2 separate regions of the Homo sapiens genome follow, and region 2 is linked to region 1. Evidence: promoter capture Hi-C in human tissues and cell types (Jung and others, 2019). All regions are on one chromosome and are shown on one strand. The core of a region is centred on a gene start or on the middle of the fragment in contact, and the rest is flanking DNA. Distances in the headings are between cores, read along the strand shown.

What was found. The method cuts DNA at HindIII sites, captures the fragments that hold promoters and counts their contacts. A contact is called where the count stands out against the background at its distance.
Region 2: a fragment that was not itself captured here is called in contact with the fragment with the promoter of ENDOU in region 1 in 1 of the 25 tissues and cell types used here (spleen).

The regions. Positions count from the first base shown.
Region 1 is chr12:47,722,720-47,727,469 of GRCh38, forward strand. ENDOU (endonuclease, poly(U) specific) reads right to left here and starts at 2,771. Exons shown (of 10, transcript NM_001172439.2): 1 at 2,640-2,771. The coding sequence starts at 2,694. All of the region lies in intron 3 of RPAP3-DT (RPAP3 divergent transcript), which reads left to right. RefSeq lists silencers at 3,286-3,405, 4,371-4,430. The HindIII fragment of the contact is 12,082 bases long and covers 1-4,750 here.
Region 2 is chr12:47,889,471-47,894,220 of GRCh38, forward strand. The region is part of intron 1 of VDR (vitamin D receptor); the gene reads right to left. Among named protein-coding and RNA genes, the nearest start is that of VDR, 13 kb to the right of the region's middle. The HindIII fragment of the contact is 4,335 bases long and covers 146-4,480 here.

The DNA.
Region 1 (4,750 bases), core at 1,521-4,020:
TTCCTGGCTGACTTCATCACTACAGGTCTGTATTCTTTACATCAGAGAGGCATTGGGTCAAGGTTAACCCGGGTCCTCAGACAACTTCACATTGTCAGGCCTCCAAGGTGGGCAGGAAGGCAGGTTTCCAGTCCCTAAAAGAGACCAGGCCCAAGGCCACTTGTTCCTTCAAGCCGGCAGGAACTCCTCTTGAATGTTAAATGATGCTCCCTTGGAGCCTGAATGCAAAGACCTTAAGGAGAAATTTTCAGCCCATCAGCTCCCTGCTCAGTCAGCCTGGCAGTACACCCAGAATCCAAAGGGAGAGAATTCAGGCAAATCAGGGCAATGTTTTTAATGGGCCAAATCAGCAGAGTCCAGGGAAAGAATTCACTTCATTCCAGCAGCTGGCACCAGTTGAGAAGGGTTGCAAGCGAGCAGTCAGCTGGACGTGCAGGAGAGCACCCCCGCCGGCCCAAGCTGAGTGGGCTTTTTCATCTCTGCTCAAGAACTTTGTCTCCAGCAAGAGCCCCATGCCAGCACTTTCTCACATTTCTCTGTGCACTTAGTCTGCTTCAAGGTGACCTTGGGATTTGACAGTGGAGTGCAGGGGTGGGAGGAACTTTTCCTCATAGGCACTTTGCTGTGACATTCTGGGGACACTCTGATGAGTAACTAGTCACCCTAACAACTCACTCCAGCATCCCCACACTGCACCATTAACACCAACACTCTGAGTAAGCCTTGCTCCCCAAGCCAGGTGCCTGAATCACTGCTGTAGTAACCTGTGCCTCTTGTTCCTCTGCCTCACCTCTCTGACTCTCTGCCTTTCTTCATCTGAGCCTTTCCTCTCTCGGGTTCAGATTCTCCCTCCATTCCCCCAAGAAATGCTCAATTTCTCTGCACTTTCTAAGACTTCAATATGCCAGAACAGCCACTCCCTATCCATACTGGCCATCAAGGAAGCTTGGTCCCAAGCCTGGGTGGACACAGTGTCCCTGTACACTGGTGCTCAGCCCCTCTGATGACTGGGACATCCTACACATCTGTACCGTTAGAAGGCCCCAGATGCTGTTTCCATGGAGACCTAGTCAACCAAGAAGCCTCACCCCTTGGACTAGCTTCCTGCCTCCATTCACAACCAAAAAAATCAACCAAGGTTCTCCACAGACATCCAGCTCATAAAGGAGGACCTGAGGCTGTCAGTGATTCCCCATGTGATTCATATTCTTGCCTCTCAGTTCTGAGATGTTGGGATAGTATCAACAAGTGCAGAGCCTCTTCCCTGCCACCTTAGGAAGCCTCATACACTTGACCTCACTTCCCCATCGATCCCACAGCCAAAGCAGATACTGCCCTCCGACCTAGCAGCAAGAGCTCCACCTGCACTTCTAAAGCCACTGCTACCTCTGCCCCCCAGGGACCAAATATCCAGAGTTGCTCTCCTTCCCTAAGGCTGGAATATGCCAAGCCCGCTGGCCACCCCTACACATTAAGCCCCCAAGTTCCACCTTCCTCCCAACCAACAGGGCTGAGGCTGGTGGCTCCCAGGCCCACCCTCATGCTCTCCCACTGCCTCTCCACCCACTAGGGCCCAGGCAGAGCTGGTTTCTGGTAAGATGCACTATCTCATCCATGGTTGGGAGGCACAACTTCCTCTTCCAGGGGTTTTCCACTTAGAAATCCCATAAGGGTCTCCTTTCCACAACCCAGTTGGAAATGACCCCAAGCGGAAGTTTCTCCCAAGAAAATTTATAGTCATAATCATAGCGAATTTCCAGTTCACTGAGATCTCACTTTGCACCAGGTGCTTCTCATACATTATTTCATTTAATCCTTTCCACAGTCCTACACAGGAGCAACCCAGTGGAAGGATTCTTTCTCCTGTGGGCAGAGGAGGATTCTCCCCACACTCCTCAGCTCAGCCCCTCCCTTGGCACTCCTTCCCACCCACCCACTAGCTACCAATTAACCCATCAGCACCAGCATTTTGCACAGTTACTAAACAGGAACATGGTCCTGTTCCTCTGCCAGTCCCATCCCCTGGACCTCTCATAACTGTGGGCCAGGTCCCTTCTGTATTCTTCAATTCTCCTAACACTGCAACAGAGATCCATTCCTCTGACCCCTGTACAGCCCCAGATAGGACGAGGCCCACCTCCTGGTCAAAGGTCCTTTCAGTTTCCTCCTAAGCCTGCCCACCTCCTAAGGCTCTACCCAAAGTAACATCACACCCTAAACAACCTCACCTGTCACCAGGCAGTGGAAGGAGTGACCAAGGGCAGCCAGGCCACTCAGACCCCATGGACACCAGCCCTAGCTTTATTCCTTACAGTGGCCCCAGACAACAAAATCTTGGGGAGATCAAAAGTCAGGCTGGACTAAGGGATATTTGGGGCTGATCCTCCAAGGTGTCAAGAAGGGAATTCCATGAAATCAGACCATCAGCCCTGCAACTCTCTCCACATAGTCCAGTCCATTCCGGGACCAACGCCTGCACCCTCAGACAAGGACAACCCAAAAGTGCTCTGCGGCTTTAGGACAGAGCTCACCCTCCCTTGTCCCACGGCCCTGCCCTCTACCAAGTTCTCCAACTCTCTGCTTCTTTAGGCAAGATCCCGCCCCACCAGCAATCCCATGCCCGCCAGATAGTGACTTACCAGCCCAGGCCAGGCCACACAGCACGGCCAATACCAGGGAGATGCAGGCCCTCATGGTGCCCAGTTGGAGGCCAAAAAGGGAGTGGCTGTTGGACTTTCACTAGAGTCAGATGAATGTCACAGCTCTCAGACGAGCCTTATTCCTCAAGCTGATCCTTTTAAAGACACCAGGACTTGTGGAGCTGGTGTCTCCAGATCCTTTCAGGAAGAAAAAGGGGAGGGAGGGACCCTAGATGGATAGGAGGTGGGGCCCTACAGCTGTTTGAAGCCTGAGGGAAGGTGACTAAGAAGGTAGGTAATGCCAGATGTTGAGAACAGGTAATGCTAGCTGTTTGCAGCTTAAAAAATAGGTCATGCAGGCAGGCACACCAAGATGGGTCCAGTTTGGAGGGTTCTTTGTCCAAATTAGGGACACCCATGGGCTGATCTTTGGGTGATCCCCACCAAACAGACACCTACTTCCAAGTCTCAGACCTGACTTTCCAAGGGGCCACAGGTTGGATTCATCTTCAAATTCCTGGAGCTTAGCATGACACTGGCACACAGTAAGGTGATTGGTCCAAATTTGACAAACAGTAAGTGCCCAAGCAAGGGTTGGGGTCATTGGACAGAGAGATAGAGGATGTGTCGGTCAGAACCAGTGCTATTCTTATGACCACCAAGCCCAGCATAGCTAAATCAGCCACATGTCGAGCGCATGGCTAAATCACTCTAAAATATTATGCAAATGACTCTTACTGAGTCAGCCTCTGGGGTTTAAACGTTTCAGATTCCTTATGAGGCAGGGGAGGGGCAAGAGGCCTCTTAAAGGCAGCCGAAGGCCCACTCTTCTTCCCCTGGGAGCCCAGGGTTTCACTCCCTTCACCCCAACTTACACTCCTCTCCTCAGGAACTCCTCCCCAGTGAGGTTCTTTTGTTTCCAAGTCCAAAAGAAGGGGAGCAGCTCCCCGTGACTGTCCAGTTTTCCCCGATAATAAAGGTAAAATCTGCCAAGTATGATGCCCTTGCCAGAAAGAGCACTGCATGGGGATTCTCAACCCTCTCAGGAAAGAAAACTATCATATAAAAAGGCAAAATTGGTGAACAGTGGAGGCCACTCTATCAGTGATTTTTTTCTGGAGGTTGGGAGTGGAGCACGTCTTCATCCAGTGTGCTTTAACAGGAGAAGTTTCTTCCTCTCGCTGGTCTTCAGCTTTCTCATCTGAAATGATGGGGTTGGATCTGACAATCCCTTCCAGGTTCTCAGACTTTAATCTCGAGTTTTCCTGCCCATGCGCCAGGTTGAACAGTTGCTGGTGGGTTAAAGAGAATCCCCCAGCCTGTTGCTGTGTAGAGAGGAGTCCAAACATAGGGACTCAGGGGTAGAGAGAAGGACAAGCCTAGGGCAAGCAAACTTTGCAAGGGGCTCACACAGGAAGTGCAATGTATGTATATATTTTGAGATGGAATCTCTCTCTCTGTCGCCCAGGCTGGAGTGCAGCAGTGTGATCTCGGCTCACTGCAACCTCCATCTCCCCAGCTCAAGCAATTCTCATGCCTCAGCCTCCCGAGTAGCTGGGATTATAGGCATGCACCACCACACCTGGCTAATTTTTGTATTTTTAGTAGAGACCATGTTGGCCAACCTGATCTCAAACTCTTGACCTCAGGTGATCTGCCCACCTTGGCCTCCCAAAGTGCTGGGATTACAGGTGTGAGCCACTGCATCCAGCCCGGAAGCACAACTAAAGAGTGAGCCTAGCCCTTCTCTCCCAGAAGGGAGCTGGTTAGAATGAGTAAGAGCAGAAATGGCTGCTTCATTTGCATAGATTTCATTTACACAATCCAAAAGCAGGCTGAAGAGTCACTGCCCCTCAGAATCCTCATCCTCCCTGGGTTGGCACCACATAAACGTGTCTCTGACTCCTGTTGTTTAGGGGACAAAGGAGGGTGTCACTGGCTGGCCTGGGAAGCAATGATGCCTCAGAATTTGGGAATGAATGGTCTGTCCCTTCCAAGTGTCCAGCTGGGTGGACCCTAGCTGAAGCCAAAGCTGTCAGAGTGGAGTACAGCCTGGCTAGGTTCTCCTAGTGTCCAGCTGAACTGGCCATGGGATGGTGTTTTGAGGGCAG
Region 2 (4,750 bases), core at 1,063-3,562, 170 kb after region 1:
CCCGACTAACTCCAGCTCCTGGCTTCAGCTCCCGTGGCCAAAGACATGAACAAGAACTCAAGACAGGGAGTACTTTAGAGGAAAGTGGGATACGCCTGGCCTGAGCTTTCTCTACTCCAGGTGGGTCTTCCTGGGACACTAGCATGGGGGTACTTCCCAAGGATATCTGCTACAGGGAAAAGTTGATGAGACAAGGAGGCTATTTGTTCAGTGACTTGGAGACCAAGAAATAGAAACTGGGGCATCCCCAAAGGGAGAGAGTAGGTCCAGCCCTTCTTTGGGGAGACCCAAACTACTGCTAGTGTTAGTGCAGCTGATGGCTAAATGGGATTTTCTCTGAAAACAAAAACAAAAACAAAAAAGCAGCTCAAGACAGCGGGAGAAAGCTGCTTCCAAGCCACTCCCAAGCCCAGCTTCCAGTGTGCCTGTGTGCCTCCCTCCAGGCTAAGCATCTGTCTTAACGCTGGGACCCGCAGCCTGAGTCCACATAGGCCTGAGCCACGGTTTTTTGTTTTTTTTTTAATTGCACATCACTCCTTTATTATACTGATCTGGAAAAAGGATTTAGTACAGTTATGCTCAAATGAACACTGGACCCATGTGGCAGGACCAAGCAACTAGAACATGATTCAAAAAATCAGTGAAAGACACATTTGGACAGGACCAAGAGGCATTTCACTGCCACGAAACAAGGCGGGGAGGGATTCTAAAACACACAGCAGGAAGCACTCCTGCTCCTCAGAGGTCAAGGAGCTTATCCCATATTAGTATGAGGAATGGCTTATTTTCTGACGACCACATGAGGGACTATTTCAACTGCCACGAGAAACCCCAGAAAGGTTATTGTTTTGTATTTTACATATATGTAATATGTATTTTATATATATTATGTATGTAATATATATTTTATATATATATATATATATAAATCTAACACATAAACTAAATTCAGGATTGATCCCAACCTTCTAGAGCCAGCTCCTCTGGGGTCAGGGAGGAAACGGTTGTCACGTCACCAGGCAGGTTACATTCATCTTCCACTGGAATGACTAGAGCCCCAAGGCAGTGGCCTGACTGCAGAAGAGCAGAGGACTGGCTCCTGGGGGCAGACAGGCTGTCTTGCTTCTCCTCATTGGTTATGGCTTAGCACGGTTCCTCCCCACAAGTCCTTACTAAACAAAACACTCGCAAAAACCCAAGTCACTACCTTTAAACTCTCTTGGATAAGGGGAGCTTTCCCACAGCTTGGACTGAGAACGTGTGCCCTAGAAGTGCTATTCTGACTAGATTGTATGAAGGGAGTGGGTGCAGGAGACAAAATGGCTAAAATGAAAATGGGAGCCACTGGTCCCCATCTGCAGCTACAACTCAAGATGTCTACAGATGTGGTCAGTGTGACATGTGCAGGAGGGAGGGGCAGAGGGACGCGATGGGCAGGGAGGGTGCTCCTGGGGACAGTGGCCTGCCCAGGCCTGAGCCACTCTTGCTCAGGCAAACCTCTTTGAGGCCCAACAACCTACCCCTATCCAGGGTGGCCAGGCTTATTTTCCTTATTTTCCTTCTGGGACCAACGTGATCTCTGAGTCACGTAGACTCTTCCGCATTGTGTCAAAGGTCAGTATTCAAACCCCAGGTCCTACCAGCTCTGAGATATTTGGGATCCTTGGGATCAGACCCCTTGCCTTTGTCCAGCTACCTGGGCCAGCCTGATGCCCCTGGCCACCTGACCACTGTTCAGATGCCCCCAGAGCCCATTCCTGTCTCCTTATCTACAAACAGGGACATGATAATACCTGAGTCTCAGTTCTTGTGTGGGGATCAAACGAGCTGATCTCTGAGTAGCCCTCAGAAGGGTGCCTGGCACACCATAAGCTTTATGTGTTAACTATTATTATTATAACTGTACCTGGCTTTAGTATAATCAATGGAGAATCCAGGAAAATGAGAAGAACTTCAGGCCCGAGAGAGGTGCTGTGAAGGGCAGGATGCCTGCTTCTCAGTCCCAAAAGCTCCACCCCAAACAAACGTTGCCCAGAAAGCCACAATTTTGCTGAGCTGGGAAAAAAACTGACCACCCCACCCACTGTCTGTGGCTTCTAAAACTCTTTCAAAACTTCTTGGGGTGAGGAGAAATGAGTTGTTCTAATCTCTCTCCTAACAGTCAGAGAAGCTGAGCTACAAATCTGGACTTTTCCTCCACGTAAAACATAAAGCCTGTGGCTCCCAAGTTGTCACTGATTACCACCCTTACAGCCATCATCCTTCCTGTCCCTTCTCATCCAGTGTCACCTCCATCCCCCACCTCCCCCATCATCAAGTGCTGATCCTGTACCTGCATCTGTTCTCACTCTAGTGGGACCTGAAGCTTGACTACCTCCAGGATGCCGATGCCCCGCTGTCTGTTACCAGGGCAGCGGCACCACCACCACCCACCCCCACCCACCACCACCTGAAGCAGAAAGCAGAACTCAGGAGAAGGCTGAGGTGGGTGCCGAGGGGCTGGAGTCAGGAGGTGGCAGCGAGAACCGTGGAAGCCCTGGCAGAAGAATGGCCCTGCCATGCCCCTTCACCTAGACATGGGGTGGGCTCTGGCTCAGTGGGCCTGGACTTCTGGCTGCCCCAGCTCTTGAAGGCCTGGGAAGGCCATTCACTTATCCTGGGATAGATTCTGAAGCCTGTGTCAGAATCAGGGAAGGATCCCCAGGGTCCTCTGAGATGGGCAGGGCTGGGCTAACTCTCCACCAGGCAGCTCCGGTCCCATGCACGGCTGATTTGCCCAAACGTACCGTCTCCATCTTCTAGGTTATTAGTGAGGGTGGACACTTCCCCTGTACTGTGTTCATGCAGCTTCTCAGGACCTGGGCCACGTAGGAAGTTCCCACTCACTTTCAAGGGCAGCAGCAGTCACCCCAAGGTGACATCGGCTGCTCCTCCATTTCTGATTAGAATGACTTCCCCCTAACAAGCTTTTCCAGAGCTGTTTGGTCAGGCTTCTGGCCATCCTTCTGGGTAGGGTCCCTCTTCAGGACACCCCTGGAGGGCCAGGGATAGGATGTGGCGGCATTTCTTCTTGGCCTCACACTGTGGTGGACATTGACTCTGGCCTCTGCTGCCTTATCTCTGATAGGGTCCCTGCCTATGTTTAAGTGCCAGCCACATGGAAAGGCCTGTACTGGAAGTGAGAGACACAGTGGTGAGCAAGACATAGACCCTGTCCTCTAGGAGCTTACAGTCTACCGCGGGTTGGGGGGTGGGGATGGGGGACAAACAGGAACCTCCAATTCAGTACGACACATCCTACGATCCAGGTAAGTGCCAGGTCTAGAGGGAGCATATGCAAGAGCCTCTGCCTCATCTTGGTGAGAAAAGAGAAGAGAAGGCTCTTTGGAGGCTGTCCCCTCTCAACCTCTCCACGGAGACAGGAAGGAGCAGAGGAGTTTAATGTGGTGTGGTAAGAGGCGTAAGGAGCACTCCAGGCAGAGGATACTGCACATGCAAAAGCTGAGAGCGAAAGGGAAAGAACATGTTTGGGACAGAGAAACTCATTCAATGTGGCTGGAGAGAGGGAGAGGGTGCCAGGAAGAGACGTAATAACTGGCCACACTCATGTCAAAGGCCTGTAGGAAGTACATTCCACTCTTTTCTCTGCTTCTTCAAGTTAAACCCAGTGAGTCTTGAATATCAGGAATTTTTAATTATTGCCACGATTTATTGAAACTGAAGAGTTTCAGACCCCATTCAGATCCCCATTCCAACCTGAATCCACCTTGAGTGTTGTGACAACAGGGCCTCTCTCATTGTTTCATTGAGACGTTAGCTATGCACAGGCCTCTTCTGCAGCACAGCTGAAGTCCCAGCCTGGGTACACACAAAGCCACTGTCCCCCACAGTCCTTCAGGGAGATCCTTAACCCTGAGAAGAATAGGACCATCAGTAGTCGAGCTAGAAGGGAGAGGTAAAGGAGAGACCTGAAAAATTCAGCCTAGCTGAATAGAAAAAAAAAAGGTTTTGTGGGAGAAAATCAAAAGAAAGAACAAATGATTCAATAAGGGCAGATGGAAGGGAGGTTAGTGAACAACTCAGCTGCCATATCACCAGTGCAATCCTTACTTAATTCCTCAGTCTGTCCAGGGTGGTCAGATATGGTTGATGGGCGCAGAGAGAGGTGAGTTGCCCACAGCCGCAGGATCCCCAAACCTGCCTCCACCAGTCCACTCAGCCCACTCAGCCTACTCTGTTCTGGTCAACAAGGTCACTTGCTCATTGCCAGGAATTGTCTAAGGAAGGGCATCAGGCAAAATACACGATGCTCACAAACAACACTCACCACAGACGTGTGTGGAGCACCTCACATGCAGATAGGCACATGCCAGTCCATATCCTGAGTCTGGCTGTCCAAACTCACTGCTGGCCAACATGACACAAGCCTTGCCTTACCCTCAGAGCTATAATTGAAGATAACCCTCTTGGTTCAACGTTTCAGGCCAAATATCAGAATCTGTCTGGAGTTTTCTTCCCCAGGGCCACAAAGTGGTAGGAAACAGCTGTCTCTGTTCTAAGCCTTGAACCCTCACCAAGCTATGATTCCCCTTCCCCAGCCCTACCCATTTGTCATCTCCCTCTTCTTTGTTTTTCTTTGGTAGCCAGGGGGCAAAGACAGAACAGATTTAAACCACAGGGTACTTTCCATAAATGCTGCCCCAGGACAGAGGAGGAGCTAAACTCAGGGTCCCTAGAGGAGCAACTTCTT